Regions from separate parts of the Homo sapiens genome. Here region 1 is linked to region 2. The links are contacts of gene promoters, found by promoter capture Hi-C in human tissues and cell types (Jung and others, 2019). All regions are on one chromosome and are shown on one strand. Each heading gives the region's core, a stretch centred on a gene start or on the middle of the fragment in contact. The rest is flanking DNA. Distances are from core to core; before and after follow the strand shown.

The links. Contacts are between HindIII fragments. The study calls those that stand out against the background at their distance.
Region 1: a fragment that was not itself captured here is called in contact with the fragment with the promoter of SPINT1 in region 2 in 2 of the 25 tissues and cell types used here (IMR-90 fibroblasts and lymphoblastoid cells).

The regions. Positions count from the first base shown.
Region 1 is chr15:40,779,857-40,786,558 of GRCh38, reverse strand. DNAJC17 (DnaJ heat shock protein family (Hsp40) member C17) reads left to right here. Exons shown (of 11, transcript NM_018163.3): 2 at 6,562-6,631. Among named protein-coding and RNA genes, the nearest start is that of C15orf62, 13 kb to the right of the region's middle. The HindIII fragment of the contact is 4,719 bases long and covers 2,652-6,702 here.
Region 2 is chr15:40,839,948-40,845,869 of GRCh38, reverse strand. It overlaps SPINT1 (serine peptidase inhibitor, Kunitz type 1), which reads right to left and starts at 1,822. Exons shown (of 11, transcript NM_003710.4): 1 at 1,684-1,822; 2 at 841-1,380. The coding sequence starts at 1,315. It overlaps SPINT1-AS1 (SPINT1 antisense RNA 1), which reads left to right and starts at 1,346. Exons shown (of 2, transcript NR_146468.1): 1 at 1,346-1,691. RefSeq lists silencers at 1,141-1,380, 1,671-1,730, 1,811-2,040, 2,202-2,384 and an enhancer at 1,678-2,249. The HindIII fragment of the contact is 27,771 bases long and covers 1-5,922 here.

The DNA of each region.
Region 1 (6,702 bases), core at 3,762-6,261, 62 kb after region 2:
CTTCAGCTCTGCCTCAGTGATCCCAGCACCTGCAGACACAGTTTCTTTCTTTCTCTTTTTAGAGATGGGGTCTTGCTCTGTTGCCCAGGGTGGTCTCAAACTCCTGGGCTCAAGCGATCCTCCCGCCTCACCTTCCCAAAATGCTGGGATTACAGGCGTGAGCCACTGGACCTGGGCCAGAGTCAGTTTCTGGAGGAGCTTCCAACCCGGGATACCTGGCTTTCAGCAGTCCTGTTTATCCTATATCATAAGGAGTAAGATTATAGAGGATGGCCCTTCTATTTCTTGTTCTTCTGAAAGTTCCTCTCCTTCCCAATTTTGTGATAGTTATAAAAAATAATTGTTGTACATTTTTACCCTGAATCTAGCCTTTTGAGCTGTTCATAAGGTAGGATTATTTAATAATAAACAATATTGAGACCGGAAGGTTTTTCAAAGGCCTGCTTTAGGAGAGTTGTGTTTACATGGTGAGAAATTCTTCAGGCAGCAGTCAACTCCAGGAGGGCTGGACAAAGCTGGGAATCTAGTTTGTAGTACAAAGCACCAAATTCTAGGCCAACCGGTTCAAAGTCAAAACTGGTCTTCCAGGCTAAAACCAAGGGATGGGCCCTGCCCAGGGCAGGTTTAACAGTTAAATATAGTAATAACTAGTTAATCAAGACAGACATACTTGACCAACATTCTTAGGCCAGCTGGGTTTTGATTCAAGGCCACTCTGGAAGATCTCAGGCTACCTACCCATCCCTTCTACCCCTTGAATAAGAGTATTTCAGAGACCCTGGGAGTGAACCCAGGATTGAATTTTAGATCTACCCCACAGCAGACTCAAATCCAGCCCTGTCCACCTAGAGAATTCAAATGGAGTTGACCTGCATCCACTGTGGACCAGGGTCCATTCCTGAATTCCTGTCCAATTGGCATCCTGCTGGCCTGGTGTCACAGTTTACCCTCTTCCAGAAGTAGAGGAGAGAAAGGTTTGGGAACTTGTAGGAAGCACCTAGTTTTTGTCAGGTGCTTACACGGATCATTTTCTTTAATCCTTCCAGCAGCCCTGTGTGTAGGATTTATTCTTCTCAGTTTGATGTTGAAGTCCCTAAGGCTGTGTGAGCTTCAGTAATTTGCCCAAGGTCATGCTATCAGTATGTAGAAGATTCCGAATTTGAAAATACATCTGCCAGACTCCAGAACTTGCCCTCTTTTAGTGAACCATGCTGCCTCCTAGCTTAGAATTGTGGAAAGAAGCTAAACAATTTTGTTTTTGTTTCTTACCAGTTTTTTTCTTGTATCACTTGAAAAGTAATACAAGCTTATTATAGAAAGTAAATATCAGCTATAACCCTTTCAGCTGTTTATAAGGTAGGATTATTTAATAATAAACGATACTGAGACTGGAAGCTTTTTCGGGGATATCCCTTTTCTTTCAGAGATGTTGTTGTTGTTGTTGTTTTGTTGTTGTTGTTGTTATGGACTTTCACTCTTCCCTCCCAGGCTGGAGTGCAATGGCATGATCTCGGCTCACTGCAAGCTCCGCCTCCTGGGTTCAAGCGATTGTCCTGCCTCAGCCTCCTGAGTAGCTGGGATTACAGGCTCCCACCACCATGCCCAGCTAATTTTTGTATTTTTAGTAGCGACGGGGTTTCACCATGTTGGCCAAGCTGGTCTCCAACCCCTGACCTCAGGTGATCTGCCCGCCTCAGCCTCCCAGAGTGCTGGGATTACATGTGTAAGCCAACACGCCCGGCCCAGAGATATTTTTATATTTTTGTATTTCCATCTGTTGGGGATGAAAGTCCTAGCCTCCCTGTTTGGCTTTATCTGACACCACTCTGGCAGAGGTTTAGGGTAGCAAGAATGGAAGTCTATGCTCTCTACCTGGCCTTTGATGGCATGGGTGGGGTGGTGTCCACTGTTTTTTCTGTGGTAATTGGCTGGAGTAGAATAGTTTTTGCCTAAAGTAATGTTTGTATGGCTTTTCATTGAATGGATTTTGGGTATCATAATTAACCCTTATGTCACAGTTTCCTCATTTGTAAAATGAGGAGGATAATAATTTCTACCTCATAGGGGCTTTAAGAATTAAATAAGTTAATATATGTAAAGCATATTTGACAATATGAGTGGATTTTTCAGCTTGAATAATTTTATTTTCCTATTACAGTGAAAAACCAAAATTCCAATATAGAACATTCAAAATAAATTATGAAACACAAAAGAATATTTATCATTCCCTTAGAATAAAATTCAGAAAGCATTCTCTCAAAAAAAGGAAAGAAAATGAAGGAGATGCCACTGCTGGACACCCCTTCTGTCTTGCTTTCTTACTGCTCCTTCTTTTTTTTTTTGAGACAGAATTTTATTTTTGTCGCCCAGGCTGGAGTGCAGTGGTGCAATCTCGGCTCACTGCAACCTCCGCCTCCCAGGTTCCTGCCTCAGCCTCCCTAGTAGCTGGGACTACAGGCGTGTGCCACCACGCCCAGCTAATTTTTGTATTTTTGGTAGAGACGGGGTTTTACCACGTTGGCCAGGCTGGTCTCGAATTCCTGACCTCAACTGATTCGCCCGCCTCAGCCTCCCAAAATGCTGGGATTACAGGCGTGAGCCACCACACCCAGCCTGCTCCTTCTTCTTCACACTCACTTCTACTCCCCCTCTCAGATTTATAACAAGGAACATACAAACTTTTATTTTATTTTTTTGAGACAGAGCCTTACTCTGTCACCCAGGCTGGGGTACAGTGACACGATCTCAGCTCACTGAAGCCTCTGCCCCCCGGAATCAAGTGATTCTTCTGCCTCAGCTTCCCCCATAGCTGAGATTACAAGCATGCACCACCACACCCGGCTAATTTTTATATTTTTAGTAGATACAAGTTTCACCATGTTGGCCAGGCTGGTCTCAAACTCCAGACCTCAAGTGATCCACCCACCTCGGCCTCCCACAGCGATGGGATTAGAGGTGTGAGCCACCATGCCCAGCCTAAACCACTTTAAAAGAGCCCCATGATACAAAAGAAAACATCTTCCACAAAACCCCCCTACATCCCTGGGGCAAGCCTACTAGTCCTAGTCCTGAGGAAGTTCATCTTGAAGGTAGTGTTGCAGGTGATGCCATAGATACTGGGACATGGACCGCCTCCCCCTCCCTTCCTCTCACCCATCCCAGAGAGAGGGTGGAGATAGGATCAGAGAGGAGGGGCCCAGAGGCCAGGAACAAACACCCAACAGACTCCTGTCAGTGTGTGTAGGTGCTTTTATATGTGTTAATGAACCTTGATGTCAGAGGGCTGGGGAGATTGAGAAAGAACATCTTTATAATGTTTTTGGTATTGTTTTACTTATTGAAAAAAAGCAAACAGGGGCCCTGAAATATAAAATATGTTCAGTAAAGGAATGAGGCTGGAGGCACAATAAAGCAGGCAAAGAGAGCAAAAGAAAGAAAAGACGAATGATAAGGGACCTAAAAAGTAAAGATGATATATTGCAAAGATGACACTGTCTTAAGCTAGCACCTCCTTTCCCTTAATATTGTTCTTTTTTGTAGTGAAAACAGAGCTAGGCAGGGAGGGTTAGGGTGGGAGGTGAGCAGGCAGGGCAGATGTGCTTCGGTGGGCGATTGGGAAGGCAGGTGGCACGTCTACACCCTCTCTGCCCAGCGCCTGTCCTGGGTGGTTCCTGCTGCCTCCAAGGCAGTCAGGAGAACCAAACAGCTTGGGCTGCCATGGCAGGTGCCCTGGCTATGGCCCAGCAGGTGGCAGCACACCCCTAGAGGTCCTGGGCCCGGTGGCTGCCTCATGGATGGAGGAGTTGCCCAGCAGGTGCTCACCTTGTGGATGCTGGCTGCTTACCTCTGAAAGTCCTTATTTAGCACACTTGGGTGTAGAAGCGTTTCTTGCGTCCATCTTGGAAGCTTAGAAATCCAATCTGCTTAGCTCTTCCTCCAGGAGGTTTGAGCAGCAGGTAACACACACCAAGCAGAAGGGAGAAAGCAAAGGCCTTGGAGGCAGAGGACGGATTCTGGGGTTGTGTACACTGTCTTCACTTACAACAGCTATTAGGTAGCACACGAAAGAGAATCTTGGTAGCTGTGTTTATTTTTACTTATGTAAGAAATATTGGGGTTTCTTTCTTTCTATGTATTTAAGAGAGAGTCTTGCTCTGTCACCCAGGCTGGAGTGCAGTGGCATCATCATAGCTCACGGCAGCCTCAAAATCCTTGGCTGAGGTGATCCTCCCTCCTCAACCTCCTTAGTAGCTGGTACTGCAGGCACGCACCACTATGCCTGGCTAATTTTTTATTTTATTTTAATTTAATTTAAAATTTTTTTATTTTTATTTTTGAGACAAGGTCTCACTCTGTCACCTAGGCTGAAATGCAGTGGTGTGAACATGCTCACTACAGCTTCAACCTCCCGGGCTCCAGTGATCCTCCCACCTCAGCCTCCTGAGTAGGGGGACAAAGGCACATGCTACCACACCTGGCTCATGTTTAAAAAATTTTTGTAGAGATGAGGTCTTGCCATGTTGCCCAGGCTTGGCTGGAACTCCTGGGCTCAAGCGATCCTCTCGCCTCAACCGCCTGAGTAGCTGGGACTACAGGCATGCACCACCACACCTGACAAAAAAAAATTTTTTTTTTTTGAGACAGAGTCTCATTCTGTCTCCCAGGCTGCAGTGCAATGGTGTGATCTCGGCTCACTGCAACCTCTGCCTCCCAGGTTCAAGCGATTCTCCTGCCTCAGCCTCTCGAGTAGCTGGGACTACAGGCGCCCGCCACCATGCCTGGCTAATTTTTTTGTATTTTTAGTAGAGACGGGGTTTCACCGTGTTAGCCGGGATGGTCTCAATCTCCTGACCTCGTGATCCACCTGTCTCGGCCTCCCAAAGTGCTGGGATTACAGGCTTGAGCCACCGCACCTGGACTAAACTCAAAAGTTTATAATAAGATCTATGTCAGAACATGGATACCTCTGTCTACTATAATATTTTATTTAAAAAAAATTTTAATAAGCGTGGCAAATTCCTGAACAAACTTTTTGAAATTTATTTTTTATTATTTTTTTGAGACAAGGTCTCCCTCTGTCACTCAGGCTAGAGTACAATGGCATGATCTCGGCTCACTGCAACCTCCGCCTCTGGGGCTCAAGTGATTCTCCTGCCTCAGCCTCCCAAGTAGCTGGGTCTACAGGTGCACGCCACCATGCCCGGCTAATTTTTGTATTTTTAATAGAGACAGGGTTTTGCTTTGTTGGCGAGGCTGGTCTCGAACTCCTGACCTCAAGTGATCTGCCCACCTCAGCCTCCCAAAGTGCCAGGATTACAGGCATGAGGATTACAGGATTACATGCCAGGATTACAGGATTACACCATGTCTGGCCAATCATAATCTTTTTTTTTTTTTTTTTTTTTCTGAGATGGAGTCTCGCTCTTGTCCCACAGGCTGGAGTGTAGTGGCACAATCTTGGCTCACTGCAACCTCTGCCTCCTGCATGAATCAAGCGATTCTCATGCCTCAGCCTCCCAAGTAGGGGGATTACAGGGGAATATGTCATCACACCCAGCTAATTTTTGTATTTTTAGTAGAGATGGGGTTTCGCCATGTTGGCCAGGCTGGTCTCCTACTCCTGACCTCAAGTGATCCACCCGCCTCAGCCTCCCAAAGTGCTGTGATTACAGGCGTGAGCCACCATGTCCGGCCTCAATCATAATCTTTTATTTTATTTTTTATTTTATTTTATTTTATTTTATTTGAGACAGAGTCTTGCTCTGTCGCCAGGCCGGAGTGTAGTGGTGCGATTTCGGCTCACTGCAACCTCCGCCTCCTCGGTTCAAGCGATTCTCCTGCCTCAGCCTCCCAAGTAGCTGGGATTACAGCTGCCCGCCACTATGCCTAGCTAATTTTTGTATATTTAGTAGAGATGGAGTTTCACTATGTTAGTGAGGCTGGTCTCAAACTCCTGACCTCAGGTGATCTGTCCACCTCAGCCTCCCAAAGTGCTGGGATGACAGGCGTGAGCCACCGCACCGGCCAATCATAATCTTTTAAATGAGTCTCCCCGTTGATGGGGATCTTGGCTGGCTAGTATCAACAGTGTTGTAGAGAGCATCCTTGTATATTTATTTTTGCCATACTTCTACAAGTCCAGATTCCTAGGACTTGGGTCAAAGGGAAAGAACATTTTAAATTTTGATGGCTGAATTTTCTTCCAGATAGGTTGCCCCAGTTTATATGCCCACCAAGAATGTGTAGAGTACCTGTCTTCGAGTGGCTGTCGAGAAAGCGGGGTACTGTGCTCCTGCCTGTTGCAGCAGCCCCTGGACATCTGCAGTGGTGAGGTTGAGCACTTAGCAGGAGGTGGGCCCAGCTCCTGTGCTGGGCGACAGTGGCTCACTCCCTCCATGGCCTTGGCCTCCTCCATTGCCAGTCTCCCTGGTGGCTAGGAAGTGGGCGCCAGCAGCTTCTCTTTTAGGTGTGCATGGGATTCCCCTTACCCATTGAGCAAGGTTTTCCTGTTTGTCCCTGGGATGAGAGTGAATGGCCATGTCTTCTGTCTGACTCTTCCAGGTAAAGAAGGCGTATAGGCAGAAGGCCCTCTCCTGCCACCCAGACAAAAATCCAGATAATCCCAGAGCAGGTGAGACTCTTCTCAGGGCGTGGGGAGAAAGAAACCCACTCACCCGGGCATTGTGTTTCCCGATGTAAGCT
Region 2 (5,922 bases), core at 573-3,072:
AGTCCCAAGTCCAGCCAGTGGAGGAGACTATGGCCAGGCTCACCTGACAGGGCATCGGTGTGCCCAGACCAGTGCTTGGCCAAGGTGCCTTTCTAGTCACCAGACCATCCAGACAGCTCACTCCTTCAATCAGCCTATCAGTGCCAGAGGTCAGGAGTCCTGGGGACTTCCTCTCCCCTCCAGTACACACAGCCCAGAGCCAAAGGCCTCCCTGTGAGCACCAGCCCATCACCTCTGAACATCCTGAGTTCAGGAGCCAGAGCCTGGGCCCTGCCCTCCCTACTCATGTCCCCTTTCATTTGTTTACTGTTTGTACTGCCTACTACCGATGTGAAGGCGATCTGGCTGTGACATCTGTCACCCCATTGATCACCAGGCTTGATTCGGCTGTACTGCCTACTTCTAAGGAGGGCTTCAGGTAGAAATAATCCCAGCACTTTGGGAGGCCAAGGTGGGTGGATCACCTGAGTTCAGAAGTTCAAGACCAGCCTGGCCAACATAGTGAAACCCCGTCTGTACCAAAAAAAAAAAAAAAAAAAAAAAAAAAAAAATTAGCCGGGTCTGGTAGCGGGTGCCTGTAGTTCCAGCTACTCCGGAGGCTGAGACAGAAGAATCACTTGAACGTGGAAGACGGAGGTTGCAGTGAGCAACCAGAGATTGCGCCATTGCACTCCAGCCTGGGCGACAAGAGCGAGACTCCGTCGCAAAAAAAAAGAAAGAAAAAGAAAAAAAAAAGTGAACTCTCCTTAACTCCTCTCTGATGTTCGTCTCCCCTAGGACCCCATAACCAGTCCCTTTTTTGAGTCTCTCCAAACCCATCCATCTTGGCACCCTCCTCACCTCCAAAGCCCTGGGTCCGCAGCTGGCGGTAGGAGCGGTACACTTCCCTCGTGAGGTAGTTGATGAAGCCCTCCCTGGGCGCGAACTTGCACACGAAGTTCTGCTCGTAGAGGCAGTTGATGAGGAAGCAGGCGGCGATGGCGTCCTCCCCGCGGTCGGGCTGCAGCTCCACTAGCGCCAAGTTGCAGTTCTGGGTGGTGCAGCAGGCGCGCACGCAGTCCCAGCCCCGGCGCACGGTGGGGGACTCCAGGAAGGTAGCTCCGTTGCTGACCGAGGCGTTGGTGTCCAGCACGAAGCCAGGCACCCCGGCGGTAAAGCTGTTCAGGCAGTCGGCTCCCGCGGGCAGCCCAGGGGGCGCGGGCGGTGGCCCGGCCTGGGTGCCCTGGAGGCCGAGCGTGCACAGAAGCCACAAGGCGACGGCAGGGATGCCGGCCGGGGCGAGGCGGGCGCGGGCCATCGTCCTCGCAGGGGCCATCGCCTTCCTCCCCAGGGGGGTCACCTTCAGAGCGCGGGCCTCTGGGTTCCGAGGGTGCTGGTGACCTGAGAAGAAGGGAGGGGACAGAGGAGGAGACACACCTGATCAGCCCGGGAGACTTTGGAGGAGGCGGGCCGGCCGGGAGGAAGTGGCGGGGAGGAGGGACCGGAGCACCCCAGGATCGAAGAGGGCGCACGGGCCCGGCCCTCCCACGCGCCCTCCAGGGACCCGGCAGCCAGACAGACGGACAGGCGGACCGCTAGGGAGCTCAAGTACCCGGACACACGCACGAGCGCAGAACAAAGGGCCGGACATGCTCCAGCCCGCTCCGCCTGCGCCTCGGCCTTGCGCGCGGGGGCCCGGGTTACCTGCGCAGGTGAGTTGGGTGGGGCCGGGTCCGCCGAGGTTCCGGTCCCAGCTTCCTGCGCGGCTCGGGTCGCGGCTTCCGACCCGGTGCTCGGAGAGCTGGGGCTCGGCCGCCTTCTCCCCCTGGTTTCTGGTGAAACTGAGTCAGCGCCGTCGGGGCGGGGCCGACATTCACCCTTGCGCTGCCGGCCCCGCCCACGCCCGGTGCGCTGCGGCCGCCTCTAGCGCGGAGCTCCAGGCCCGGCCCGCCCCGCGGCCCCGCAGCCCCGGTGCCTCCCCGGCAGCCAGCTCCCCGGAGGGGCTCTCGGGCTCCACCCAGTCCAGCCTCGCGAGGGAGCCCCGCGCCCGAAGCGCATACCCAGCCGGGAGGGGATGCGGCCGGGACGCGAGGGTCCGGCCTCTGGGGCGGCGGCCTCCAGTCTTCCTTTCCGGCCGGGGCCTGCTTTCCCAGCCCCAGACCTGAGGCCCGATGCAAATGATCTTTCCGGCCCTCAGGAAATCATTTCCATTTCGTGGCGGGAAGGTAACCCAAAAGTTGCGTGGCTGCACCTGTGATAACAGGGATCCGGGATGTCTGCCTCACTGTCAGCTCCGGGAAGCCCTCCCTGCTGTCAGGGTGAGAAACGGAGGCGATTCCCCGCGTCCAGGCTCCCCTGCGTGCTCCACGGGGCTTCCCTGTTGTTCGAGGCCCCTCCTCATCTTGTATGTACAGTTCGGTCCATTCCCTGCTATGGCTCATTGGACTGTTGCCCCCTTCCCTGGAGCCCAGGCTTCCTCTCTTTCACAAAGGGGACGCTGCTGGCTACTTTCTTCCAGGGAAATGTCATCCTTGGAAGCCTGGAGGTTCCAGTTCACCAAGTAGCTGAGTTAATGCCCTTCACGAAACAGTGGACTCCTTGAAGCCAAGCTCATTGCTCCTCCTGAGTAAAAAACTCTTAAGAGACCATTCTCTACGGCAAGGGTCTGAACAGGTGAAAGACAGATGAAGGCAGGGCTGGAGGAAGGAATCACATAGCATGCTCTCTTAAAATACAGATTCCAAACCTTTTCCTGATGGCTTAACAACCCCCAAACCAATGGGAACATTCTTCCCAGTTTCTCATCCAGAGCAGCTTTGCCTAGCAGATCCTGTGGCCAACCCTTGGATTTTGCTGAACTGCAACATCCTCCAGCTGCTCACATGATGCGTGTTGGGGTGGGAATCTGGGGCCTGTCTCCCCTTCTCTGGATGTTTAGGGTTTATCCACAGACCCTGGCACACTGGTGGATATACAACAATGGTGGTATGCTGGGAATGAAGAAAATGATTGTGCAGTCACTGGGAAGAAAGGGTTTTGTTGTGATTTGATTTCCCCTTATGGCTAACACATTCAAGAATCTTTATTTATTTATTTATTTATTTTTTTTTTTTTTTTTTTGAGACGGAGTCTTGCTCTGTCACCCAGGCTGGAGTGCAATGGCACGATCTCGGCTCACTGCAACCTCTGCCTTCCAGATTCAGGAAATTCTGCCTCAGCCTCCCAAGTAGCTGGGCTTACAGGTGGGCACCACCACGCCGAGCTAATTTTTGTATTTTTAGTAGAAACGAGGTTTCACCTTTTTGGCCAGGCTGGTCTTGAACTCCTGACCTCAGGTGATCCACCCACCTCGGCCTCCCAAAGTGCTAGGATTATAGGCGTGAGCCACTGTGCCTGACCTCAAGAATCTTAATACAGGAAAATATTACCTTATGGTAATATTACATCACCATAAATTTATCATTACATCCATTATACACACCATTATAAAAACCAACATGAATTCAGCACTGACAATGCCCAAACTCTGTTCCTAAGCACTGCCCACATATTACCCTATACTCAAAACAAACCTAGGGAGGTAGTATTTTTAGCCCCATTTTACAAATGAGCAAACAGGCTCAGACAGGTAAACTGACTTGTCAGGTCATTCAGCATTGAAGCGGCAGAGTAGGGATTGGAGCCCAGGCAGGCCAATTCCATGGCTTCAGTGCTTAAACCCTGGGCTTTATGGCCTTTGCAATTCTGACTTCATCTGGAAGTTCTGCCCTCACCTCAGATTCAACTTGCTTAAACCCATAACTCACTTTCAAGTGGTGAGCACCCACCATTTGTTGAGATGCCCACTGTGTTCCCTCCAGGCACTTGACATAGGATTGCTAATGCTCAGGACAACTCTAAAAATTGCTTCCACTTTGCAGAAAGGTTCACTGACTCCATCAAGGTCAGGTAGTGAACGAAGAGTGGTGACAGGTTGTAGAGAAGTTGAACTTGTGAGCTTCAGACTCAGACTACTGGATTTAGCTCTTGCATCTGCCACTTACTATTCGTGTGGCCTTGTGCAAGTTATTTGATCTCTCTGCCTTAGTCTCCTTGAATGGGAAGTGGGGCTTCATAAGGTTTTTTATGAGGATTAATTGAGTTAATGCAGACAAAGCATTTGACACAAAGAGTTCTCAATAAATGTTACTTGAAACGACAACAACAACAACAACAAAAACACATGGTGGTGAGGATGCAGAGAAAAGGGAACGCTTATACATTGTTGGTGGGAATGTAAATCAGTTCAGCCACTGTGGAAAGCAGCTTGGAGATTTCTCAAAAACTTAGAACTACCATTCAACTCAGCAATCCTATTACTGGGTATATACCCAAAGGAAAATATATTGTTTTTCCAAAAAGACACATGCACTTGTACGTTCATCACAGCACTATTCACAATAGCAAAGACATGGAATCAACCTAGATGCCCATCAATGATGGATTGCATAAAGATAATGTACTTCATACGTACCATGGAATACTATGCAGCCATAAAATTAACAAAATCATGTCCTTTCCAGCAATACGAATGCAGCTGGAGGCCATTATCCTAAGCAAATTAAGGCAGGAACAGAAAACCAAATACCACATATTCTCACTTATAAATGGGAGCTAAGCATTGAGTACACATGGACATAATGATGGAACAATAGACACTGAGGACTACCAGAAGAGAGAAGGAGGGAGGGGAGCGTGGGGAGCGTGGGCTGAAAAACAACCTTTTAGGTAATATGCTCACTACCTGGGTGACAGGCTCATCTGTACCCCAAACCCTATACCCATGTAACAAACCTGCATGTGTACCCACTGAATCTAAAATAAAAGTTGAGGCCAGGTGCAATGGCTCATGTCTGTAATCCAAGCACTATGGGAGGCTGAGGCAGGAGGATTGCTTGAGCCCAGGAGTTCAAGACCAGCCTGGGCAACATGGCAAGACCCCGTCTCTATAAAAAAAAATACAAAAAATTAGCCAGGCATAGTGGCGCATGCCTGTAGTACCAGCTACTCAGGAGGTTGAGGTGGGGGGATTGCTTGAGCCAGGGAGGTCAAGGTGGCAGTGAGCTATGATCATGCCACTGCACTCCAGCATGGGTGAAAGAACTAGACCCTGTCTCAAAAATAAGTAAACAAAATAAAAGTCGAAATGATTCTTTTAAAAAAGTGACAGAGCCAGGATTGTATCTGAAGTCTTTTTGACATTAAAAGCCATACTTTCCATACTACCTTATGCTGCTTCTTACATACTAATAAGAAAAACTACATGTGAAGAGAAGAAAGACTATAAGGTATGCCATCAAAGTAGGGAAAGTGATGGTATTTGAATGGTGAGACTGTAGGATAACATTTCTTCTTTCTAGTTTTAAAAATATTTTCCAAGATCCCTTCAGTGAACATGGGATGCTTCCATAATGAAGAGAGAGACACACCGTGATGACCTCCACATACCATATTTGATGACAGTCTTCCTTGGTAATCACTCACATCCATCTCTTGTCTGTTCCCACTGCTGCCCTTAATCTAGGCTCTGTGCCAGCTTCCTGATGGAACTCCAGGCCACCCTGCACACTGCCATGTGGTTCCCTCCTCCAGCCCTGCCTTCATCTGTCCCTCACCTGTTCAGACCCTCAGTCATCCCCAAGAACTTCTCTGGCAGAGTGTACAGAGCCAACTGTTCCCTGGACCGACTCATGAAGTTCAGTATTTGCTTAGGCAGAGAGTGTCAGAGCTGTCAGAGGAGAGTCAGCTAAAACCCTTCCCCTGGCTGGGCACCGTGGCTTACGCTTGTAGTCCCAACACTTTGGGAGGCCAAGGCAAGAGGATTGCTTGAGGTCAGGAGTTCGAGACCAGCCTGGGCAACATAGTGTCTGAAAAAATAAATTTTAAAAAACAACCCAGCCAGGC